Regions from separate parts of the Homo sapiens genome. Here region 2 is linked to region 1. Evidence: promoter capture Hi-C in 16 types of primary human blood cells and fetal thymus (Javierre and others, 2016). All regions are on one chromosome and are shown on one strand. The core of a region is centred on a gene start or on the middle of the fragment in contact, and the rest is flanking DNA. Distances in the headings are between cores, read along the strand shown. Region 1 holds the start of MLF1 (myeloid leukemia factor 1). Region 2 has its middle 130 kb from the start of VEPH1.

The links. The method cuts DNA at HindIII sites, captures the fragments that hold promoters and counts their contacts. A CHiCAGO score of 5 or more calls a contact.
Region 2: a contact is called between a fragment that was not itself captured here and the fragment with the promoter of MLF1 in region 1, in 1 of 17 cell types (M1 macrophages). The highest score is 8.8, in M1 macrophages.

Annotation. Positions count from the first base shown.
Region 1 is chr3:158,568,460-158,575,673 of GRCh38, reverse strand. MLF1 (myeloid leukemia factor 1) reads right to left here and starts at 4,480. Exons shown (of 8, transcript NM_001369783.1): 1 at 4,327-4,480. The coding sequence starts at 4,373. It overlaps MLF1-DT (MLF1 divergent transcript), which reads left to right and starts at 4,608. Exons shown (of 5, transcript NR_104147.1): 1 at 4,608-5,503. The HindIII fragment of the contact is 5,771 bases long and covers 405-6,175 here.
Region 2 is chr3:157,626,676-157,633,889 of GRCh38, reverse strand. No RefSeq gene overlaps it. Among named protein-coding and RNA genes, the nearest start is that of VEPH1, 130 kb to the right of the region's middle. RefSeq lists an enhancer at 6,982-7,151. The HindIII fragment of the contact is 6,424 bases long and covers 1-6,423 here.

The DNA.
Region 1 (7,214 bases), core at 3,231-5,730:
CACCACAATGTTAGCAACAGGGATAATATTTATATAAAAGAGAGTGGGCATGAGCTATGTGTTTCACATCTCTATGTTCCTAAGGTCAGTGGATGATTCATTAAGGAGTTTGTCACCTTTATGAATTCTTTATGTTTAACTTAAGAAATGGATACTCATTTTGTTTGGGGGTTGAGGTAAAACGGGTGGGTCAAATAGATTACCCGAAATAAACATAAACTCATATTCTTTTTCTCCCTTATCCCCAAAAGTGTGTTAAATATAATTCATTGTGGAGAAAAGAAATTGTTAAGTGTGAATCAATTTTATAAAATTAACTGTAATATGGTGGTAATGAAAGATGGTAGTCTGTAAGCAGAGTTCTGGCCACTATTTTGTATATTTAAAAGGTCTATGCAAAAGCTTTGTGATGAATAAAGGAGATTAGGCTTAAAAAAAGTTAACTGCAACAATTTTACCTTCAATTTTTATGATATGGCTCCTTGCATTTGAAAAAGGCTATAGATAGTGATAACTGAAAGAGTAACTGATGGTCCTTTTCACCCTAAGCACAGAGGAAGAGTTCTTCTGTATGCTTACTATTTGTAGTCTGTTACTATTTCTGACCCTGACTCTTGAATTCATTGCCTCTGCTCAGAATCACTCAAGAGTTTAAATTACACTTCTGCTAGACATTTTAAAGAACATATTATACTCATTACACATTCACAGTTAAGGATGGAATCCTTAACAATGAAGGATATAAAACAACTTTTGGTATAATCAAGGATATAATACAACTCGAAAATTGTCTATCATAATCTTCTTAGCTGTTACCAATTGTATGATGTCATATTTACATATGAATGACTTCAACACCTCAATAATCTATGGATTTGTAGTACTGTGATTCTCTTGAAAGCCAGAGCTTATGTAATACAAAATAATAAAATTATGGATTTTACAAAATAATATTCTCTGGCTAAATATTCTTTTTTTTTTTTTTTTTTGAGACAGTGTTTCACTCTTGTTGCCCAGGTTGGAGTGCAATGGCGCAATCTCGGCTCACTGCAACCTCCACCTCCTGGGTTCAAGTGATTCTCCTGTCTCAGCCTCCCAAGTAGTTGGGAGTATAGGTGTGTGTCACCATGCCTGGCTAATTTTGTATTTTTTTTTTTTTTTTTTTTTTAGTACAGATGGGGTTTCACCATGTTGGTCAGGCTGGTCTCCAACTCCTGACCTCTGGTGATCCACCCACCTCGGCCTCCCAAAGTGCTGGAATTACAAGCGTGAGCCACCAAGCCTCGCCTCTGGCTTTCAAAAGAGAGAATCACAATAATACAAAAATTTAAACCTGTTAAAATAACACTGTCCATATCCCAACAGCTCCTAAACACGTTAACTAAAATGGCATAATAAATTTGCCTGAGTTCATGTATGCCTTAATAAATAATCTTCAGAAAAAAATTTTAATCATTTTATTTTTCTATATTAACCATTTCATTTCCCACTGTTCATTATCTTTTTATTAATGTTATTTTGCTTTAAATTAGTACTAACATATTTAAGTCAATCATTTATTTAAACAACAACATTGGCTAGGTGCAGTGGCGCATGCCTGTAATCCCAGCATTTTGGGAGGCCGAGGGAGGCAGATCACTTAAGCTCAAGAGTTTGAGACCAGTCTGGGTAACACGGCGAAACCTCCTCTCTACAAAAAAAATTAGCAGGGTGTGGTGGCTCCCTCCTGTGGACCCAGCTACTTGTGAAGCTGAGGCAGGAGGATCGCTTGAGCCTGGGAGGCAGAGGCTGCAGTGAGCCGAGAGCAACCCACTGCACTCTAGCCTGGGCAACACAGTGAGACCCTGTCTCAAACAAACAAACACAGACGCACAACACACCCCCCACAGATATTGTTTGAAAAATATGTGCAATAAACTCTTATTTTAAGACCTTTTTAAAAAATGCTCTCCAAATTGCAAACCTAGAAAATTTAAGGGATCAAAATAAACTAGACTTGAAATCAAAATTCAAACTGGCAAAAAACACTTAGGCTAAAAAGTATTACAAATTTCCCCTCTTAGGGATACAACTAGACTATGTCAATGTGTTTGTAACAATGGCCAAAGTTAGAATTAAGGAAAAAAAATCCCACAACTCAAAAATAAATAATAGTGAAACCAATTTCTGGATGCCTTCTTTCTAGGGCATCACATTACTTCACTGGGAACCTTCAAAGGCAACGAATGGCACTTGCTTACCTGAGGTGTTAAATACACACCCCCCCCCCCCCGCCGCCCTCCTCCCGCCCCCCTCCCCCCGCCCCGCCCCATCAGCTTCCCTGTCCTATTTCTAGTTTTGACAGAAAGCGGAGTCCCTTCACAAACAAGGTTAGCTCTGTAACAAAGCGAGCAAAGAAAACAGCGCAATTGGCATGGCAACTTCCAACAACTTCGAAGAGAAAGCACAACTCTCCAACTTTGTCGTGCTCTCATTGACACATTCCCCACTCACATGGAAAATGCTGTTTTAAAAACTTCCCCTTTTCAATGAACTGTCATGCTATAAAATATTACCTGTTCCTATTTGGAATTTAAAGAGGAGCTATAAAATATTCCCTGCTCCCATTTGCAATTATGTGAACATAATTCTCACCATAAGTTTCACCGAGATGGTAGTTATGTCACCTGCAAAGCCCTTGAAGCTGCAAAGGCCAACTCTGCACACAGGAAGCCATGACGGGCACCCAAAGTCCGGCCAAATGGAAAGCAGCAGGCACCCCGGGAGTGTGAGGAAGGGCCTTCTTTCCATCTCATGCAGCCAAATCCTCCTCCCCCTACCTGGGGCCCTCAACTCTCTACCTCACGTCCTCAACCATCCTCCTGCGACCTCACGCCCCCAAACCCTCCTCCCCCCACTGCACGCCATCAACTCTCCTCTGTCCACCTCACACCCTCAACCCTCCTACCCCCACACCTCATGCCCCTAAACCCTCTTCCCCACACCTCATGCCCCCAAACCCTCCTCCCTCCACCTCACGCCCCAACCCTCCCTCGTCCCACTACCTCTCACCCTCAAACCTCTTCCCCCTACCTCACGCCCTCAACCCTCCTCCCACATCATGCTCTCAAGCCCTTCCCACCAACTCACGCCCTCAACCCTTCTCCCCAACCCTCCTCCCACACCTCATGCCCCCAAATCCTCCTCAGCCCCTAAATCCTCCTCCATCCACCTCACACCCTCAACCCTCTTACCGCCACCTCACGCTCCCAAACCATCCCCACCAACTCATGCCCTCAATCCTCCCCTGCACTTCATACTCCCAAACCCTCCCCACCAACTCACGCCCTCAACCCTCGTCCCTGCACTTCAAGCTCTTAACTCTCCCCTGCACCTCATGCTCCCAAACCGTCCCCCCACCTCACGCCCTCAACCCTCCTCCCCCCACCTCGCGGTCCAAAACCCTCCTTCCCCTCACCTCACACCCTCAACCCTCCCCCACACCTCATGCTCCCAAATCCTCCTCCCACCTCACGTCCTCAACCCTCCTCCTACACCTCACACCTTCAACTCTCCCCCACACCTCATGCTCCCAAACCCTCCCCCCACCTCACGCCCTCAACCCTCCTCCAAACGCCTCACACCCCCAAATCCTCCTTCGTCCATCTCACACCCTCAACCCTCCCCCCTCCACCTTACTCCCCCAAACCCTCCTCCTCCCACCCCACGCTCCCAAACCCTCCCCCCACCTCACAGCCTCAACCCTCCTCCCCCCACCTCACGCTTTCAAACCCTTCCCCCACCTCACGCCCTCAACCCTTCCCCTCACCTCACGCCCTCAACCCTTCCCCTCACCTCACGCCCTCAACCCTTCCCCTCACCTCACACCCTCAACCCTTCCCCTCACCTCACGCCCTCAACCCTCCTCCCTCCCACCTCATGCTCCCAAACCCTTCCCTCACCTCACGCCCTCAACCTCTTCTCCCCACCTCATGCCCTCAATTCTCCTCCCCCCACCTCCCGGCCTCAACTCTTCTCCCCCCACTCCCAGCCTTAACTCTCCTCCCCACACCTCACGCCCCCAAACTTCCCTCCGCCTACCTCACGCGTCCAAACCCTCCTCTCTCCACCTCATGCGCCCAAATCCGTCTCTTCCCTGTCTCACACACCCCTAAATCCTCCTCTCTCTTCCCTCCCAGGCCTCCAAATCCTCGTCTCCTTCAAACCGCCTCCAGAGTTACTCCGAATTCTCTCTCGCCCTCTAAAACTCGCTCTTTTCCCTTAAAATAGCTCCCCTCGATACCTTAATTCCCGCGCGACCCCGGACTCCTGGCTCCCGTAACTCACGAGAAGAAGGGGTCATCCTCAAAACTGCTGTTCAGCATCCTGAACATTCTGGCTCTGTCTTGGGTGGCGGCAGCCGCGGACAGATTGGAAAAACGATGTTAACTCGCCGCGGCCGCGACAAGAGCTAGCCTCCAGTACGGACGACGCCTCACTCGCCGCGGCGCAGGCGGTGCCCGCCGGGATAGGAGGTGCGTGACACCGAGCTGCTTTCCCATTGGACATTGCTCTGTGACGTCACCAGGACGAGGCGGGGAGCAATGCGCCGCTGCCCTGGCAACCGCAATCAACACAGTGGAGGCGAGAAGTCTGGCCTTGCGCCGGCCGGGGAGCTTTTCGCCAAGGCTCCTGTGGGATGGGATAGCTTGTTCTCTGGGCTGCAGGAACCAAAACATTAGACCACCCTTTCTGTGACCTTGGGCATGCCGCCCTCGGTTCCGAGCCGCAAGTCTTTCTTTCGGGGAAAATGAAAAGGGGTCAAGATTTGGACCAGATGACACCCAATGTCCCATTCAACGGTCGCATTCTGTCATCCACAGGAATTAGTCCTGTATCCGAAACATTCTCTGGTAGTCAAAAGCTGTGAGCAAATAATAAGAAAAAATGTGCAAAACGTTTTTTAGTACAGTTAGCAAATAGTGTACTCAGTTGTTGAAGGAAATGGGATGAAGCCTATCAGATTTCAACAAACTTATTTACCTCTTGAGAAAGCTGCTCTCTTTTCGGTTGTCCTTCTGTGTCTCTCTTTCAAAGATCAAGTCTCACTGCGATGCTGATATGTTTTTAACACTTCTCCAGCATTTCTTAACCTAACAGCAGGTTTCAGGCACAGGCCTGCAGCAAGCAGCCATATCCAACTAAAATTCCACTACTATATGTTTTTATTTGCATTACATTTATCAGGGAGCTTTCTATTTATGGCAAGGAAACTGATTTTAAATTTAAATCAGTGATATACATCAAGAGCTAGATTTTGCATTTTTAAGTGAAAAAGTAAGCTATCAAATAGAACAGGTGGAATTTGGATATGGTGGGGCGGAGGGGTAGGCAGAGCAGGGGAGAGGAACATCGTGATAGTGGTACTCAAATTACTAAGTTTTAGAAAACACTATCACGGGGCCTTTCAGGAGCCTGGAGACAGATGGAGGGGAAGACAGAAGAGAGATTAAGGAGAAGAATGGTAAGAGTATAAGAAAAGAGAAAATACATCTTGCATGTCCACCCTTAATTCAGTGAGCTCCCCAGCTTCTCTACGTGGCTGTCTTGCAGAGATAAAGGGGCGTCCATAGCTCATCAGGGCCCCCTGGGATCAGGCCAGAGGGGTGGCACTTTGCCAGCATGAAGAAGTGTGCAAGCCCTGATTTGGAGGTGACAGGAGTAGTCAGGGGTTATTTTGAGAGCTGGAAATTTAATCGTTTGGATCTTTTACTCCCCATCCCCCTTTTTTAGCCAAGTTCTCTGGCAGCTTCCTTCCCCTGAGACTGGTGGCATGGGGTAGGGCAGACTTCACAGCCCAAGATGAGATGGCACAGCCCATCCAGGAAAGAGGATATTTTCTTTTCCTCTGGACTCAGAATAAAGCTCAGAGAACATATACACAAAATTTCGAAAATTTCTAAATAAATTTCAAGGCAAACAAAATTGTTTTATAAGACCTTAAATTGTTTTTCTCTTTAAAATAGTATAAGCACAAGATGTGAAGGAGGCCACACTTAAAAAAAAACTTGAAATGGAGTAAGTTATGTGATAAAAGATGGTGTTAAAATAGTTCTGGATTAAGGCCAAGTAAATTTGTAATGTTACCCTCTAGTTTCTGTGGGAACTTTTTTAGAATCACATTGTTATAAAAGCTTTAGTCCAGGCACAGGTTAGTCAGGGAATTAGCTGAACCTTGTGAAAGCAGTTTGGATCTAATGACAAATGCAAAAAAAAAAAAAAAGGAGGGCAGAGCAGAGTTGGCACTGAAGAGACCTTGACATCATTTTCAGAACTGATGGGTAAGAGGTGGAAATGAAAGAAAGCGTGGGTCAGGAGAGAATGAATACTCCAGCATGGGAGGAATAGAGATGCAGAACAGGACTGAGAGGAGAGGGTCCTGGACTTGGCTGTAAATATAATCATAATAGCTAATATTTATTGAATGTGTGCCAGGCACTGTTGTAGGCACTCCATATGCATTACCTCATTGAATCCTCATTAGCAGTTTTATGGAGTAGAGATGGCTTTTATCCCCATGTATAGATGATGCATTCAAGACACAGAGAAGCTGAATAAATTGCCAAGGTTCACACAGCTAGTAATTGAACTGAGCTGGGTACCTGGAGCTTTCCTCTGTGAGTGCTGGTTATATGGTATGTGAGTGATGAGTCATACTTAAAGATGCAGGATGAAAGCGGGTAATCATTTTTCAAAATCATGCTGACAAGCTAAATGGACCCAAACTAAAAAGTACAAAATTCAGTGGGAATATATTCACATCACATAAATTCAATTCTACAAATATTTATTGAGTGACTACCCAGTGTTGGGGACTGATCTACGACCTTAGGCATCATTGAACAAAACGGACAAAAATCTCTGCCTTCCCGGAGTTTATGTTCTTGTAAGGACAGACTCAAAATAAACAAAATAGAAAATAGTATATTGTAAGGTGATAAGTGTTAGGGAGAAAAGCTGATCAGGGTAAGGAGTATGGAGAGGTGCAATTATAAATAGCAAGTTTTGTGTACGCCTCACTAAGGGGAATTTGAGCAAAGACCCACAGGAAGGAAGTGGATGTCTAGTGGAAAAGCATTCCAGGGCAGTGCTAAAGTAGCATTTGCCTGGTGTATATAATGTACAGTCCTACTCATATGCCTTAAAACTCACCTTCTGAGTGAGGAATGAGATGA
Region 2 (7,214 bases), core at 1,962-4,461, 940 kb after region 1:
AGCTTAGGTAACGGCTGAAAATGAGACAAACTGATATCATGCGTCTCGATATGACGCATTAAGATGGACATAATTCTACTTATGTAAGTATTCCTGCTCAAAATGTACAACCCAAATCTAATCATGAGAAACATCAGACAAACCCAAACTGAGGGATAATATACAAAATAACTGACCTGTGGTCTTCAAAGATGCCAGTGTCATAAACAACAAAATAGTAAAAGGCTGAGGAACTGTTCCAGATTAAAGGAGACTAAAGAGACATGATAAGTAAATGTAATGCATGATTCATGATTAGATCTTGATAGGGCTGGAGAAAATATTATAAAGGACATTATTGGAACATGTATTAGTCAGCTCTGGCTGCCAGAACAAAATACCACAGTCTGGGTTGCTTAAACAACAGAAATTTTATTTTCTCACAGTTCTGGAGTCTAGAAATCCAAGATCAGGGTACCAGCAGGTCTTGTCTGGTGAACGATCTCTTCCTGACTTGCAGACAGCCACCTTCTAGCTGTGTCTCTGCATGGCAGGAAGAGACAGAGAAAGCACTCTTGTGTCTCCTCTTACAAGGGCACTAAGCCCATCAGACCCGGACCCTACCCTCATGACCTCCCAAAGGCCCCCCTCCCCAAGTACCCTTACACTGGGGGATAGGGCTTCAATTTATGAATTTAAGCAGACACAATTCAGTCCATAACAGTAGGGTTGACAAAATTTGAATATGGGCTAAATTTACATAATAGCATTGTGCCAATGTTAAATGGAATTTATAATACTGTGGTCATGTAAAAGAACATTCTTCCCCTTAGGTCATATACATTAAAGTATTTAGGGACAAGGAGAATCGTTGTACACAACTTACTTTCACATGGTTAAGAAAAGCAATTATAGAAGAGTGTGTGTATGTGTGTGGTGGGGGCAGATAAAGAAAGAGGGAGGGAGATAATGAAATGGAGCAAAATGATAACAGTTGGTGAAGATATATAAAAGGTATATAGGAGTTCTTTTTATTAGTCTTGTAATTTTCTTTAAATTTGGAATTATCTAAAAATAAAAGTTGGGGTTTTTTTGTTTTGTTTTTGTTTTTGTTTTTTTGAGATGGAGTTTCGCTCTTGACACCCAGGCTGGAGTGCAATGGTGTGATCTCAGCTCACTATAACCTCTGCCTCGTAGGTTTAAGGGATTCTCCTGCCTCAGCCTCCCCAGTAGCTGGGATTACAGGCACCCGCCACCACGCCCAGCTAAGTTTGTTTGTTCAAAATAAAAGTTTTTAAAAGTTTACCAGTATCTTTCCAGGGTAGGCTGGGGGACAGGGTGCAGGGACGAAAAGAAACACATATATATTCATGGAGATTGCCAACTTGTGTCCTGATATGTCGCCAAGAGCAGATATTGGGACAGGGTGATGTAAGAGTGAGGTTGGTCCTCAGACTCTTGGACAGATGCCTGGGTAGTGGCTGATTTGCAAACAGAACCTCTCTAATTTTATTTCACTAACATTTCAAATTGCCTGCTAATGTATCTACAAATCAAATGGACAAAATGACCTCTGTTAAATTCTCCATCCTTTTAAGAGAGTCATATGTAACTGACACTCTCAGTACTATGTGTCATGTGCCAGGCACATACCAAATCATAAAAATGTCCTAAGGCATTAATTATCGCAGCTAAGGAGAGTAAAGACAGTGGCTCCTGCTAATTGTCAAAGTCCCCTGTGTGACTGCACACTGCCACACACACAGTCGGAGCTTAAGAAACACGAATTGGTGATGAAAGTTGCCATTCTTCTTCCTTTGCAGGAAACAGCAGTGATTAAGTTGGGGGAACACATCAAAAACCCCCATGCCTGCTCAGGCACAAACACTGCAACAGAACTTGGATCCCAAGCAAGTGGTGGATGCCCTGCAATAGCGATCAGCAATTCTGTTTGATTTAGGAAGTGCTAATCAATAACGAGTCCAACTTGGAAAACTGCACTGGCTTAATCATTTTGCATCTGGTATCCAGGACTGACACACCCCAGCTGGAAGGGAGGAAAAGAGGCATAAGGAGAGAGAGGGAAGTAGAAGAGGGATGTGTGGTGGGGGGACACAAAAAAACAAGTTCATGAAAACCGAGTAAACCTTTCTGGAGTTAAAAATCGTTTCAACTTTCAAAGACGAAATCTCACCCCCAAGTGAAAGACATGACATAAATGCAAAGGCAAGTGAAGATAAACAAAAGGCCCCGCTCAGATGTTCCCGAGGTGATCCGTCATTGTCAAGGAATTCTTTACACATCATAATGATTCCGAGCACCCTGCCAGCTTGTCTCACGTACTATTTCTATATCTTACAGGATTTTTTTTCTTTCCTCCAGTAAACAGCACTTTACAACACAAGGTTTGACTGTAATTTTCATCAAACTGCAACTTGTGCAGGTTTGTGAGAGATGTCTTATTACTTAAATCCAGCTGTACGGCTCTTTTACCTTCAAGGACTGTTCCCTTGATACACCCTGTCAGCTGAGGGTGGCAGGATAACAATTAGCCTGCAAATCCATCCATTTAAATTAAAAACAAAATGCAACGGGATTGCAGGCAGAATGTGTTCAAATTCCCTTCCTATGGATTCAAGGTGGGCCCAGCCCTCCTCCTGGACCAAGGATACCTGGAGACTGGACTCTGGGGGTTGGTGACAGAGGGGAGAAGGCAAGACACAGTCCCGGCCCATTGGCTTCAGCTGTGAACCATCGTTGTGGAGGCAAATCTGCAGCTGAAAACTAGGCTGGCAGGCCAGCTGGTTGCCCATCTGAAGAAGCTAAGCACTAGCAGAGGTGCAGGTCCAGGGTAAGGCAAATGGGTGGAAAATTGAGAGCAGGACACCCAGCAAGACGTTCTGAACAAAAGGCCAGAGGTAGAGCCTCCCAGGACTGCAGGCTCATATCTTCAGATGCCTCTGACATCACTGAGAGGAGAGGAGTAGAAGGGGGGAAGGAAGAGGTTTTAGGGGTCCTCAGGAAGCCAGGATTCTGATGAAGGAAAAATATTGAACTGGGTAAGTTTTCTTGGCTACTTCAACACTAATATTTTGGGGCAAGCTAATTTCTCTTTGTGAAAATAAAAATGAACCCAATATAATGATGACTCTTTTGGCAATTTTCTGGGGTTTTGGTCAGATTGTTTTCTTGATGTTTTTGCCCTAAATCAATGCTTTTCATGAATAACAAGAAGATCTAAACAAGTAGAAATGACACTAAAGATATCACTGTACACCCATCAGATTGTCAATGGAACTCTCATTCCCTGAGGAGGGGAATATAATTTAGCTCCCATTGGAGAGCTCCTGGGCAGTTACTGGTTGATAGAGGTTCCCTCATTTATTGAGCAGTCTAGTCTCATTGGATAATAAACATGATGAGATTTTATTCCCTCTGACGAATGCCCAAACTGCACTACGTTGAGTCTCCCTGCCAGCTGAGGACAAGCTCTCTTAATAACCTTTGGCCAAATTCTCTAGCTTTTATCCCTTTTGCTTATTGGTGTGTTTAAAACTCAGTCCTGTTTGTTTCCAAGCATTGATCTCTTATCTGATGCGAAGCTCTTTTCCTCCTTCTCTTGGCTACAGCTACTGCTAGGGCTCTCTTAGCCGGTGGAGGTGGAGTCCCAGCTGGCAGACTCTCAGATACCAACTTTCTATGTCTCCAGAGAAAAGGGAAAACAGCAAAGTTATTTCCTGTGTGATTAGGTGAGGGTGCAATCTTCTTCCTGTAGTGCTAGCTACATCTCTGGCCCATGCCAATGAGCTCTTGATGTCCTCCTCCACATGGCAACATCCAATTGCTGGGCTCTCATGGGGCGCAGGTATGGATTCTTTGAAGGGCTCCATGGGAACTTATCCCCTGAGTAATTGTCTGACATGGGATCTAACCTGCCTTCACTTCCTCCACCCTGCCTCAGTGTCTTGACAGAGCATGATGTTCCCCTAGAGAATGGCACTCTGGTGGAGTACTACAAAGGTGGCTGAAGTCCAGGCATGCTCCTTGATGTTCTCTCAACTCATGTAAACCAGCAGTGGTATATTTGCCATGCTAAATGGTGGGAGGGCAGGTGTCCCTCTCTCAGTCCTATCTTCTCTCCTGCCTCCTCCTCCACACCCTGGCAGCATCAGGCACTCTGAAGGTCCAGGCTCTCACCCAATTTCCCATGAAAGAGGACCAGACTCTGACTGAGTTATATGTGGAAGGGAAGGAGAATGATTCTGACAGATGCACAGAAAACCTTTATCAGTGATTATCTTTGGTCTTCCTTCCTTGGCTTTTATAGTGAATATTGTGGTTATGTGAAGAGAGGGAATATCCTCTCTTCATGAACTTAGTACTACCTCCAAAGGCCCCCTCCTTTCTTCCTGTTCTCTCCTTAAGTTGACTTGGGTGGAAGTGATTAGAATAACCTATTCTTAGCATTGGTGCTTCTCAGTATGCCCTCCTGGAAAGTAGCTGATCACAACTGCTATGACATGACTTCATAGTGGTTATATGGAATGTTGGGAACATAACATTTTTTGTCCTAATCTTTAGGCCGTAGACACAATTCTGATACAACAGGGAAAATAAAATAGAACATGTGGGTAGCAGACCACCCATCAATTCTAGCCTACGTATGTATCCTAGAGAAATTCTCACACATATGCATGAAGAGAAGTCTACAAGAATATTTCTAGCAGTATTATTTATAATCATGAAAAATTGAGAAAAATCTAAATTTTCACAGTAATGGAATGAGTAAATAAAGTGTGGAAGCTGGGCTGGTATTCAGCCAGGTGTGTGCAGGTACACATAGATACAGAGTTACTGCTGTTTATGTGTGTTGGTTGGTTCCAGAGCCATGCCAGTTGCTAAATATTTTGAATATGACTTCCTAATCATCTGATTGACTACATTATAAACACAAAAATGAATAAACTAAGTCAATATTGATCAACATGAATAGGTCTCAAATGTTGGCTCAAAAAACAGCAGAAAGAAAAATGATAAAATGTACGTATAATTTTAAAAGTATACAAAAGAATGTTGTTTGTGATTTATGTATATGTAAGTATTGATTATATAAAAACATGGGTAGGAAATGTTGCATCAAATTTGTGATAATGGTAGCCTCTGGGGTGGAAGGGGAGCTGAATTGGGGAAGAATACAGAGGGAACATCATCTTTACCAGCTGTGTTTTATTTCTCACCTTAAAAAAAGTTCTGGATACCAAAAGCAAGAACAACAAAAGGAAAAATAGATAAAGTGGACTTCATTAAAATTTAAAACTCTTAAGCACCAAATGACATTATCAAGACAGTGAAAAGATAACCAAGAGAATGGGATAAAATATTTGGAAACTATGATCTGATAAGCGTTTAGCATTCAGAACATGCAAAGAACTCCTATAATGCAACAACAAAAAGACAACCCAAATTTTTTAAAAAGGGAAAAGAATTTGAATAAACATTTCATCATAGAAGATAAACAACCAATAAACACATAAAAAGATGCTTAATATCATTAGTCATTAGGAAATGCAAATCAAGACCACAATGAGATACTTCACTCACACCAACTAAAATGGCTATTTAAAAAACAGTAACAACAACAACAACAACCAAAACTAAAATCAAAAAATGGAAAATAAGTGTTGGCAAAGATGTGAAGAAATTGGAATTCTCATACCTTGCTTGTGGGGAAATGGTACATCTGTTATGAAAGACAGTTCGGTAGTTCCTCAAAAAGCTAACCATAGAGTTATACATGACCCAGCCATTCCACATCTAATTATATACCCAAAGGAACTAAAAGCAGGGACTCAAACAGATAACTATATGCCAATGTTCATTATAAGATTATTCACAATAGCAAAAGATAGAAGCAACCCAAGTGTCCACCAGCTGATGAATGGATTTTTCAAATGTGATCTATACATACAATGGACTATTATTTAGTCATAAAAAGAAATGAAATTCTGATACATGTTACAATATGGATGAACCTTGGAAACATTTTGCTAAGTGAAATAAGCCAGATACAAAAGAACGAATATTGTATGATTCCACTTATGTGAAATGTCTAGAACAAGCAAATTCATAGAAACAGAAAGTATATTAGAGATTACCAAGGTCAAAGGAAAGGGAGAATGAGAACTTGTTCAATGGTTATGAAGTTTCTGTTTAGGGTGATGATCAAATTTTGGTGGTGAAAACCATAGTGGTGGTAGTTGCACAATATTATGAATGTAATTAATGACACTAAATTGTACACCTAAAATGGTTAAAATGGCAAATTTTATGTCATATATATTTTACCATAATTTTAAAAAAGAATATATTATACCAAAAACCATTGAATTGTACACTTTAAATAGGTGAACTGTAGAGCATATAAATTCTGCCTCAACAAAAGCTTTTTAAAAGATCTGAAGGAAATATGACAAAATACAAATATTTATTAATTCTTGGAAATGGGTAAAGATGTTTAATTATTTTCTGTACTTGTCTAATAGTTCAAAAACAATTTTCTAAATCAAAGAAACAAGACAAGAATCAAGGGGGTGGGAGAATGATATAATAAAGAGAATATAAACACTTAAGAAGAGAGAAATAAAACAGACAACATTACCACCTCATCACACTTGGAAATACCTGTGCATCTGGAAGCAAACCATCTGTCTGCCCACTATTTACTGCAAAATGGTGAAAGAAGGAAATATTGACCAAAAAAAGAATTTGTTGTTCTTCTATTTTTCATTTGCACTATACAGGTACTAAGAGGCTAGTGTTTGTTTACCTGGAGATGCTTATCTCTACTAGTGGGAGAGGACAGTCAGAAGCACCTGGGGCATGTTGGAACGTTCCCAAGTTCACTCATCCCATTCCAGGGTTCCACACTGCTCTGAAATCACTCTTCCTGGGAACTCATATTGCCACTCCCACCTTTGCTCCACAGCGTATATCCCTGATCTAGAGCAATGGTTCAGTGACACTCTGCTCACAATGCCAACGACTAGTCCACAGCTGCTGAAGAAGAGGCCAGGATATGCCTTCCTGCCCTCTTGGCTAGAACTGTGGGGTGAGTAGGGGAAACATGATGCTCTAGGCCAAGCTGTCTGAAAGGAGACACTGTGTGGTCAAATGTGTGTTTGGTAGATATTCTACAGTGCACACAAGGATGAGTTGAGATTGGAAAATAAAAGATT